Regions from separate parts of the Homo sapiens genome. Here region 2 is linked to region 1. The links are contacts of gene promoters, found by promoter capture Hi-C in blood cells and fetal thymus (Javierre and others, 2016). All regions are on one chromosome and are shown on one strand. Each heading gives the region's core, a stretch centred on a gene start or on the middle of the fragment in contact. The rest is flanking DNA. Distances are from core to core; before and after follow the strand shown. Region 1 holds the start of ACE (angiotensin I converting enzyme). Region 2 overlaps TANC2 (tetratricopeptide repeat, ankyrin repeat and coiled-coil containing 2).

Evidence for each region. The method cuts DNA at HindIII sites, captures the fragments that hold promoters and counts their contacts. A CHiCAGO score of 5 or more calls a contact.
Region 2: a contact is called between a fragment that was not itself captured here and the fragment with the promoter of ACE in region 1, in 1 of 17 cell types (naive B cells). The highest score is 5.6, in naive B cells.

Annotation. Positions count from the first base shown.
Region 1 is chr17:63,474,392-63,478,734 of GRCh38, forward strand. It overlaps ACE (angiotensin I converting enzyme), which reads left to right and starts at 2,670. Exons shown (of 25, transcript NM_000789.4): 1 at 2,670-2,952; 2 at 3,540-3,707. The coding sequence starts at 2,704. RefSeq lists silencers at 2,930-3,019, 3,120-3,179. The HindIII fragment of the contact is 10,215 bases long and covers 1-4,343 here.
Region 2 is chr17:63,068,198-63,075,299 of GRCh38, forward strand. It overlaps TANC2 (tetratricopeptide repeat, ankyrin repeat and coiled-coil containing 2), which reads left to right. Exons shown (of 28, transcript NM_001394998.1): 3 at 5,746-5,817. Among named protein-coding and RNA genes, the nearest start is that of TANC2, 110 kb to the left of the region's middle. The HindIII fragment of the contact is 1,695 bases long and covers 2,979-4,673 here.

The DNA of each region.
Region 1 (4,343 bases), core at 1,420-3,919:
GCCTTCTCCTTTGTTGTGACGGCAGCCGAGGAGGTGGCTGACTGCCCAGACAGCCTTATCTCTTTCCTACCTTTCAAGGTTATTGTAAATACCAAATTAGATTGTTTATACACAAGAATTTAGCACTAAAGCACTATACAAATGTAAGCTATTTATTTCTATTTATCCTTCTCCTTCATGAATAAGACCCTAAAAATAGAAGATATTTTTAATTTTTACTCACTGGGCTCAAGGTTGCAGTGTCTGTATTATTGCAAATTCCAAATTAATGAAGTCTGGCTCTTCTTATATTATTCCTGCAAAAGGCTGTGTGCTCACCCCCCGGAGTGTGAATACGAGTGTGGGTCATTTCCTCTTTCCTCTGCACCCTTCCTTCGATGAGGTTTTGCCCTGTGCTAGGCACCATGCTAAACTCTGAGAAAACCACAGAGAACAAGGCAGACGCCATCCCTGCCCTCCAGTAACATACAATTTAGTGATGAAGCTGGGGGATTTAACAAGCCATTCTAATAAAGCGTTACAGTGAGGGAGGTGCAGGGTGATGCCTCCAGCAGCCCTGGTGTCAGCTGCTCCAGGTCCAGGGGAAGACTTCCATTATCTTCCAACCCTGTCGGAAGTGGAGGCGGAGGCTGTTTATTGCTGACACAGTCCCTAACCCAGGGTCTATAGACATTGTGGAAATGCCTTGGAGTCAGACGGGAGAATGAACCAGCAGAAGCAATGCCCGCCCTCCACCCTCCTGAAGAGGGTTCTCAGGAACTCTTTGGAGGCGAGGCCAGCCTCTGGCTGAGGGCCTCTGGATACAGGTTAGGCCTCAGGCTCTTCTCCTCTCTACTCATCTCTCCTCCCTTGGCCCCTCCTTCAGAGGCTGACAGAGCCCCACTCTCATCTCTTCCCCACCCAAGCCTCTTTCCACAGAAAGACTGCTTCCTCCCAGGAGACAGCAGCTCATTTGCACACAGACACCCACAGCCCTCAAAGCCTGGAAGGCCAAGCTGTTAGGACCCCTGAGAGCAGGGTGGCTCCTGGGAGGAGAGCCCAGGCCACCACCTTGCCCTCCCTGGCCCCTGGCCTTCGATGGGGCTGCTCTGATCACAAACGTCCACCAACGTAGCCGGCCCAGAAGTGCACCCATGTCCTCTGGTATCCACTGGCTCTCCAAGCCAAACTGGGCAGGGAGGAGTTGTGAGGGAAAACTGCAGGTCAGGAGGGAGGCTGGCAAAGCGGGCCAGGGCCAGGCCTGACCCCAGCTCTCCTCTCCCGGCCCCACTGCCGGCCAGTGTTTAACAAGGCCCTGCCTTCTCCCTCTAGTGCTAGGGACAGCCACCTTCTTCCTCTCCCCACCGCCCCCTCTCCCCTGCAACACGTCATCTGACAAGTCAGTGCGATCTCACTGGAGGTGCATCTCACAGGAACGCGGGGTCACAGCCTCCTGCACACACTCCATGCTGCACAGCAAGGTGCACGTGTCCCTCAGAGCCCCAGACACCATCCCCCACTCACCCAGAAGCCCAAGTGATTCCCAACAGCCCCCAGCAGCCTAATGGGTTGGGGTCTTGGGAGCAGCTGTCCCTGGCTCCTTCCCTGATCCCACCGCCCAGCCTCACCCCACGGTTCCTCCATTGCCCCACCTCCCACTGCGCCGCCGGGCCTCTGCCAGGGTCAAGGGGCTTCCCCCCTCTGGCAGCAGACGCCATGGTGCCGAGGTGGCCTCCACAACCGCCCTGTGCGCCAATAGGACAAGACTGTCCTCCCTCCCCCACACTTGTCACTTTGAGGGACACGTGGATGAGACAGGAAAACACAGGGGAGTGTGGAGACCTGAGGTGACTTGGAGCAAGCCTCTCAACCTGAGCGGCAATTTCTTCATCTGTAAAATGAGGGGGTTGTTCTCATCTCTGAGGCTTTGTGTCGCTCTCAAAGCCTGCTAGCCTCGGGTTCTAGGACTCTGTTGGGATCGTGTGTGATGTTTTCTGCTGAGCGACTGGCAGCCTGTGTCCTCGGGGGGAAAGAGGGCAGGCGCTCCAAAGCTCCTGCGCTCTGTGGCTCCCCCTCCCTCGCAGCCCCAAGCCCCAGGTGTGCCGGCCGCCCTGAGCCCCTCCAGCACCTCCCGGAGGCGCCTGCAAGACACCTAAGGTCCCCGCCTCCCTCCTCTCCCCCCCGCCACACCCCTACCCCCGGCAGGCGACGTCCCCGCCCCTCGACCATGGCCTGGTGAAGAAGCCGGCCAGGCCCGATCAGCCCCATCCCCGCCGCACGAGCGGCGCCTGCGGACAGCTCCTGGGGCCCCGGCCTTGTCACTCCGGAGGCGGGAGGCTCCGGGGGGTCGGGCTGGGAAGATCGAGCCGGAGGCCGCTAGGCTCCCAGGCCCCGGCCGAGGCTGCGCGGCCGCACGGTGGGCAGGCTCGGGTGTTCCGGCAAACTGCCGGGTCCCCATCTTCTAAAGAGAGGAGGCCCTTTCTCCAGCTTCCTCTGCGGGAGCCCGACCCAGCCCCATCCCGCCACCCCCGGGCTGCACCTCGGCCCCTCCCCGGCCCGCGCCCCTGCCCGGGGCGGGCCAGGAACCTCGGCCCGCGCCGCTGGGGACTCTGGAGCGGAGGAGGAAGCGCGGCGGGGCGGGGGCGGGGGTGTGTCGGGTTTTATAACCCGCAGGGCGGCCGCGGCGCAGGAGAAGGGGCAGAGCCGAGCACCGCGCACCGCGTCATGGGGGCCGCCTCGGGCCGCCGGGGGCCGGGGCTGCTGCTGCCGCTGCCGCTGCTGTTGCTGCTGCCGCCGCAGCCCGCCCTGGCGTTGGACCCCGGGCTGCAGCCCGGCAACTTTTCTGCTGACGAGGCCGGGGCGCAGCTCTTCGCGCAGAGCTACAACTCCAGCGCCGAACAGGTGCTGTTCCAGAGCGTGGCCGCCAGCTGGGCGCACGACACCAACATCACCGCGGAGAATGCAAGGCGCCAGGTGGGCGCCCGGGCCCGGGCGGGGGCGGGGCGGGGCCGCGGCGGCCAATCACAGCACGCGGCCGGCTTGTGGGGCGGGCAGGCTGGCGCCCCCGACCCGAACCCCACCCCGACCCCGGACCCTCGCCCCGACAGTCAGCCGCGGGGCCCGAGCGCCGGGCTGCGCGCACGGCCTGCGCTCCCAGCATGCACGAGTTGGATGGATGAGGGTGGCTGCTCCCAGGCCGCGCCCGCCTTCGCCGAAGGTGCTGGGCTTGGCTCTGGGGCCCCCGCGCTCTCGGGCAGCTGCCTTCTCACCTCCGGACGCTGTCGCTGTCACCGTCACCGCACTGCACTGTCCATCCACCCTCCACTCGCCCGGCCTCTTTTCTGGTCCCAATTTCTGCTCCACCATTCCCATGAGGCAGATTCCCTCCAGAAGGAGGAAGCGCGGCTTCCGCAAACTAAGGTCTCCCGCAGGGATCTCCCCAGGGCCCGGGCTCTGGAAGCCCTTGGCCTTCCTCCCCTCCCCCAGCACCGTGGCTTCTCCTTTATGGCCTGCATCTAAGCAGGGTCCTACACCCTCCCTGCCCTCCTGGTGCCCAATAGGAGGAAGCAGCCCTGCTCAGCCAGGAGTTTGCGGAGGCCTGGGGCCAGAAGGCCAAGGAGCTGTATGAACCGATCTGGCAGAACTTCACGGACCCGCAGCTGCGCAGGATCATCGGAGCTGTGCGCACCCTGGGCTCTGCCAACCTGCCCCTGGCTAAGCGGCAGCAGGTGGGCTGAGGGCTGAGGCAGAGCTCGGGGGCGGCCTCCTAGTGCCCCATCGTGGGGGTCGGGGGAGAGCAGCCCATCAGGGAGGGAGGAACCCTGGGATCCACATGGGCCCTGACAGAAGGGAAAGCCCAGGTAAGCACAGAATGGCTTTCTGAGCATTGATTTTTCTTGGAGATGGGGTGGGGAGTTACTTTCTGTTAAAGGAAGCATTCTGGAGTAGGAAGCCAAATTCAAATACACTTCTCCCTAGGCTGGTTTATGAGCTTCTTTGGAAGAGTTGAGAAGGGCTGGGCGTGGTGGCTCAAGCCTGTAATCCCAGCACTTTGGGAGGCTGAGGTGGGCGCATCGCTTGAGCCCAGGAGTTCAAGACCAGCCTGGCCAACATGGCAAAACCTCGTCTCTACAAAAAAAAAATAGCTGGGCTTGGTGGTGCGTGCACCTACAGTCCCAGCTACTCTTGAAACTGAGGGGGAAGGATCACCTGAGCCCAGGAGGTCAAGGCTACAGTGAGCTGTGATTGCACTACTGCACCCCAGCCTGCGTGACAGAGTGAGACCTCCCCCCAAAAAAAAGAGAGAGAGAAAAGGTTGAGAAAGACTGGGAAGTCACCAAAGCCAGAGAATGGGAGGGATCTGC
Region 2 (7,102 bases), core at 2,576-5,075, 410 kb before region 1:
AATGGCCAGTAAAACATATGCTCAGCTTCATTATTAATGAGGGAAAGGCAAATTAAACAAGAATCAGATACCAATTCGCGTTGTTTAGCAGAAATGAAAAAAACCTGAGTAGTATTCGTGAGATTGTGAGGAAATGGGAACATTAACTTTTTGTGGAAATAAAAATTAACGCAACTGTCTTTGGCAGAAATTTGGTTGCTCTTATGGAGTTTTTGCATTATATTATTTAGTAGTTTCGCTTCTATATCTTGAACATGTGCACAAGGAGCTTATATACAAGCAGATTAGACATGTGCTATAGGAAATGGTTCATTGCAGACTTCCTTTTGAAGTACTATAAATTTGGAGACTATCTAAATCTTCATTAGTAAGAGAATAGATACAATTGATATATTCATACAGTGGAATACTAGAGTTAAAATGAATTCGACAGATAAATTTCAAAACATAAGTATTAAGTAAAAATGGCACATTGCTGGATGATATAGTTTCATTACACTTACATAGTATAAACATTTGTGGAGGCATATATATGTAATAAAAGTATAAAAACATGCATGTTTTTATTCTAGAGTTAAAATGAATTCTAGAGTTAAAATGAACGTCCACACAGATAAATTTCAAAACATAAGTATTAAGTAAAAATGGCACATTGCTGGATGATATAGTATCATTACACTTACGTAATATAAACATTTGTGGAGGCATATATATGTAATAAAAGTATAAAAACATGCTTGTGATTTTACATATTAAGATATAGCGGTTAATTTGGGGAGGGATGGAAGAAGGGAAACTGTATTGGAGAACTGTATAATGAAAATATCAGCTGTGTACAACTGGTAGTGTTTTAGTTTAAAACAAATTGATGTAAATATGGGAAATCTTAAGATTTGGTGAAGTTTGATAGTTGCTATATCAGTGTGAGTTATATTTTTCACCGTATTTTCTATATATTAAATTTATTTACAATAAGATAATTAACTTATTTGTATATAATTTTGATAATTATGATTGTTATGAACATTTACATTATGAACATATTTCTCAGCTATTGGCACTGTTGAAATCTGAGGCCTGATAATTCTTTGTGGTGGTAGGCAGTCCTGTGAATTCTAGAATATTTAGCAGCATCCCTAGCCTCTGCCCTTTAGAAATGAGTAGCACTCTTCCAATTGTAACAACCAAAAATGTCCCTAGAAGTCCGTGGTTTGCTCCTGGTTGAAAATCACCAATTTAGAGACTACAAAGTGCTGTCACATGTGTTAGCTCATTTGAACCTCACAACAGCCTTCAGAAGAAGATGTTACTTTGACCTCAGTTTTACAGATGAAAACACTGAGACTCAGAGAAATCATCTAAAAATGACAGATATGGAACTAAAACTCAGGTCTTATTATGCCCACATACTGACTTTTTGTTCATTTGTATGTACATGAGTATATATTCCCACACATTTCCTGGTAACCTTACTAAAAGTAGAATACAAATTAAACATTCTAAAAAGTTTCTTATTTTTGTATTTCATTCACAGGCATATTATTTCATATCTCCTCTAGTAATTTGTTGATGTCTGTCTCAGGCATCTTAGTGATTACTGGGTTCCATTGTGCTTTTTTCATGAAAACTTCTTATAAATAATTACAAATTAAATAAAAGGAGTAGGTCCTCTACAGAGGACTGTTGTATTCTTCTGTTTTGCCTGGGTCTGTCTTTTTTGACATGCCATATTTTCATTCTGCATTTGGAGAAAATAGGTTACCAATAGAAACTTTTGCTGGGCTGCTTTTATTTCCTTATTAACTATCATGAAGTGTTTATGTAAAATACTTGTTTACAGAAATTTTTATAAATGGATTTTCATATTCAAAATATAATTTTGGTTTCAAACCCAAGTATCAAATTCAGACTGTAGAAATTATGTACACATTAGTTTTTCATGAAAATAGGAAATGATATTACCACATAATCTAGATATTGTGGTTTTCAACAATGTTTATTTAGAATAAAAACCATAAACTTAAGGGGAAAAAAAATCTCTTTCACAGTGCATTGTGCACTTTTAGTCACCTCGCAAGAGCCTTTCTTGGGCACAGAGAAGATTGAGATGTAACATGTAATTAAGCAGTCAGGTATTCCATTCATTTGGGGTGGTTTTTTGGGAATTTTACATTTTACTCACTAAAGGATCACCTAGAGAGAGCCAAGAAAAGGGTCCTTGAGCCCATGCAGCCATTAAACTTTCAATGGCCCCTAGGCCGGACATCATTTGCAGAGCCGCCTTCTCATCCTTACTGGCCTTACTCTCAAGTCATTCAACTCATTCCTTTTCACAGAGATTGCTCTAATTAGCCTTCTAAACTAATCTCCCTGCCTTTAGATCAGGGGTCATTTCCCACTGGCCAAATCTAGGTCACTCCTAGTTTTTGTAGGGCCCATAATCTAAGAATGGTTTTTATATTTGTAAATGGTTAAAAAAAATTAAAAGGATAATAATATTTTGTGACATATAAATTATATGAAATGAAAATTTTAGTGTCCATAAAGAAAATTTTATTAGAGTAGAACCACATGTGTTTGTTCATCCAGTATCGAAAACCACCACCCTAGTCTCTACACTACTATAAGGGGTATCTTTTTAAAATGCAAATTATTCTAGGTAAATGTGTTTAAAGATTTTTTTAAAAAACATTAAGCAGGTCAGGGTTCTTAGTTGTTTCTCACAATGTAATTTCTATGACAGCACATGCAGGTTAACATTGTGCCTCACTATAGGTGAGTTAAAAATGTTTCCATCTCAAGTGGTTGATTTGATAAGAGTAATTCATATATCAGTGTCATGAGCATTGACCTTTTCACTAAAAAGAAAATGTATCGTATTTTCACACTGTAAGCATTTAGAAAGAACTACTTTTACTTACTTCTTTTCTTGTTAGAGCAGCTTTTTTCTTGAATTCCTTGTAAAGCATGTATACCTAAGCTTGCTGTGATAGATTTCATAGATGTGGGGAATAGATGCATGATAGGGACTTTAGTTACCTAAGCATGGGTATACAGAATGTCAGGTGCCAAATTTTCTTAATAGAGTGTAGAATTTTTTTTTTTAAAGAGTCAAGGTCTCCCCTTGTCACCTAATTGGAGTGTGGTGGTGTGATCATAGCATAGCTCATTGTAACCTCAAATTCCTGGCCTCAAGCGATCCTCCCACCTTGGGCTCCCAAAGTGCTGGGATTACAGGTGTGAATCATTTTGCTCAGCCCTAGAATTTCTTAAATAGTGGTCTTCATTAGAAAGGAGCAGTAATATAGACCTGGAGAGGGAGGGTTATAGGGTTGGCAGTGTACCAGAATTCCTACTGAGGTACTTTATTTTGGTTGTGGCCAGTTGATTGTCAAGAGAAGCTCTCTTTTAGTAGAATGAATAGACAGAGACACCAAACATGGCTTTTGGGAAAAACATTTTTTTTTCTTTAGAGAATATATCTTTTGATTTTATATTGGAAGCACATAGGAAGGTTATATTGTAAGACTAAGTCTTCATAACCTGCTTTGTTAGAATGCCTCTATTCTGTAAAGGAATAATTGCTATAGTTACTGATTAGTGCTTTTTTAACATCGTTTTTATGAGAAAAGAATAAAACGGGAACATGAATTGAACTCAAAATATTTAATAAATTTGGGTAGAAATTAGTATCAGAGAGATGTATTGAGTCAAACATCCTTGGGTTAAAATCCAGTTTCATTTTTACTGGTTTTGTCATTGGATTTCAGTTAGTCACCATGAGTTTCAGTGTTCTCAGCTGTGAAATAGGTCTTTACTTCATAGGGCTTTGATGAACTATGTAAAATACCTGGCAGAGAGTACATAGTAATTATTGGCTGCCTTTCTGTTCTTAAATACATTTTAGAAAGAAGAGAAAACTTTAGGATTTTTGGACATATTGAATATTAATTCACAAGAGAGTGAGGTAGAAGGAATCCTAGAGGGTTTAAAACTTAGAAATTAAATTTGAGTTGGCCCAGTTGAAATACTGAGCCTTATTAAAAAGAATCCATATTTATAGAGTTGTTTACTTAGAATTTGATATACAGTTAAGAAGGATTGTAAATGTTCACATTTCCTTTAAAAGGACAAAATTAAAGAATTTAAGTTTTAATTTCAACAGAGGCAGATCAGCCATTCAGAGATGATAATCCATGAGTAGATTTTTGCTTTAATTTTTAAAAATAATGTCAAAGAAAAATTTCTTATATTTGTCTTTCAGATAACACCTTATTTTGTCAACATGTCTATTTTTATTCAAATGTGGTAACTTATATAGTAACAGCAGAACTAAAATAAACTGATTTATATTTAAAAAGTATTTTCATACTGGAGGAAAAAATATGGTTGCCTATCACTTTGAGTATCTTTCTATGTGATAAGTTATTTTACAAATCTGACTAAATTAGTGGAGTGTTTTACTAGATTACTGTGGACTAAGAGATATGAATATTTCCTGGCAATGTACTTATTATTTTGTATTGTCGTCGTATATTTGGAATCGATTGATTAAATGTTACTGTACTTGCTAGTTTAACAGCCCTCTACAAAATAGAGAATAGTTGATATATATACATGAATTGGATTTAATTATTGCTAGGCCTTACATATAATAAATATACTTAAAAGGAAGCTTTATATCAATAATGAATTAAAAAACAGGCCATTCTGTTTAAAAAGCAATAGATGTTACTACACGAGCTCTATTAAAAACAATAAACCATAGAATAAGTAGATGACAGAGCAAGAATACTCTTTATTAAACCTGCTTGCAGCTACTACCCCTTTTCCCTGTCAAGTTAAAAATAAGACAAGTGATTGTATGAAAGAACGAACAAAGGAAATTGTTTGATGCCTTAATGCATTTTTCATCTGATTAAAGTGATAACAAATTTATAGGTGTATAGACCACTATGTTAAAGATTTTGCTTGGTTTAGTTTCATATTTTATATTATACTTTACATTCTTAATATATTAATTTCTGTTTTACTGTGCCTATTTTAATGAATTTATGATGCATAATTTTTCTGTTTCTATATAACAAAATTGAGGCAATTATTTACAATAAAGTAAAATTTGTTTTAGCTTTTCTTAACATGCATGAGGGAATATACTGTTTTGGTTATTTCTTAAAAGAAGATGTATACAATGAAATGGATTTGTTTCTATATAATTTTAAAAATCATGGTAAAATAAACTCAAGATTTATTTGGTTTTTAGCTTTTATTGATTTATTTTATAGGTTTATTGATTTTTATTTCATAAAACATACGAATGTAATTCTTATTATAGTAAAACAGTACTAGGGATTATTTGATGTGCTGTTGTACTTTAGACAGAAAAAGCAGCTGTAATTAATTTAAAAGATTGTTTTAAATCAGGCCTTCTTAACTGGAATTCTGTGACTGAACTTTGGTGTTGATAACTTTCCTTCATTATATGCAAAGTAGAGTATATACATATGGGGGAGGGGAAAAACACCTACACTTTCTTAAGACTTCAAGAGGGGAGTGTAAACCCACAAAAATCAGGGTAAGAACCATTGGTTTATATAAGAAAAATCCTCAAATATTTTAATGATCCGGATTATAGGAAATACAAATAAATGATCGATATAGTAGTTTTAAATGTAGATAATGTCAGAGACACTGTTATGTCAATCTCATTATCTATTTGCTTATGCTCCTTTTAATTTTATGCAGATGGAGGGAGCGAGGAACCACCGGATCGAAGACAGTCAAGTGTAGACTCTCGCCAAAGCCGCTCTGGGCAAGGTAAATTTTCATCAGATTGATTATTAAATTTCAAAAAATAACGATAGATATTTCTTTCTAGTACTTAATTTGGAGACTAGGATATTGCCATGGTATAGTTTAGATATTCTAGTTTCTCATTTAGGATTTAAATGATATGATGTAAAAATCTATATATTATTTATTCAAGATATATGAAAATTAAATATTGTCTTGTGCCTGTTTTTTTAAATGATATTAACTTTTAAGTAATTTTGAAGCATTATGGTATATATCTGGATATCACTTTTGGAATGGATCCAAAAGTGAATTTTCAACACCAACATTTGTTGGAGTATCATCACACACTGGCTTTTTAAATTTCATCAATATAGTATTTGTTGTCTTAGCTGTCTCAGAAGAAATGGTTTTTGTTGGTAATTGCTATATTAGGATCTTCCTACTTATTTTTCTTTTCTATTTAAAATTTATTATCATAGGCCTTTGATTAATTTTTGAAGGGACAACTTCAAAACTAGGTAAAAACATTCTGAGTCAGTGAAATACCCAGTTAGACCTTTTCTAACTTATTTAACATTGCATGACCACCAGCTCTCTATTCCTTTTTCTTTATAGTACTTACCACCTTCCTATTTATTCTGTTTATTTTCTCTGTTCAAAACTAGAATGGATGTTGCGTGATAGCAGTGATTTTTATGCTTTGTTCACTGCTGTATCCTTATGTGCCAATAATAAGTACATAGTATATAGTAGTCACTAAATAAATGGTGAATGAATGATCTGAAAGAGAATGAGTTGAGAACCCAAAATGATGAAAAATAGATTATAAAATTTCAGACAATCATTTATTGAGTTTGGTTTTCAAAGAATCTTTAATAGCATAAAATAAAATAAAGCTGAGATTTACAGATGTGCAGTTTTTAATCCTGTAAAAGCTTCAGATTTATTTATTCTATAATCGTGTCCCTCTTTTTCTCCAAGTTTGCTCTTCCCAGTTTTTAGAGCTGTACTATTTTTATAAAACTGTTTGTTGCAGATTAAAAAGAGGAATAATATGAGTTGAAAATTTTAACTTATGCTAATACTTAATCATACTTAAGTAATAAGCATGTATTATGACTATGTCTGGAATTTATCTTATTCACTCTTATTTTCCCTGTAAACATATTTTGATATAAAAATGAGATTATGTAAAACTCTAAAAATAAAATTAGTACAAATTACTACTAAAATTGTAATTATTAAATGTCAAATTTTATTAAGTATCAAATATAGATGTTTGAAATCACTTATCTAATTTACTCTG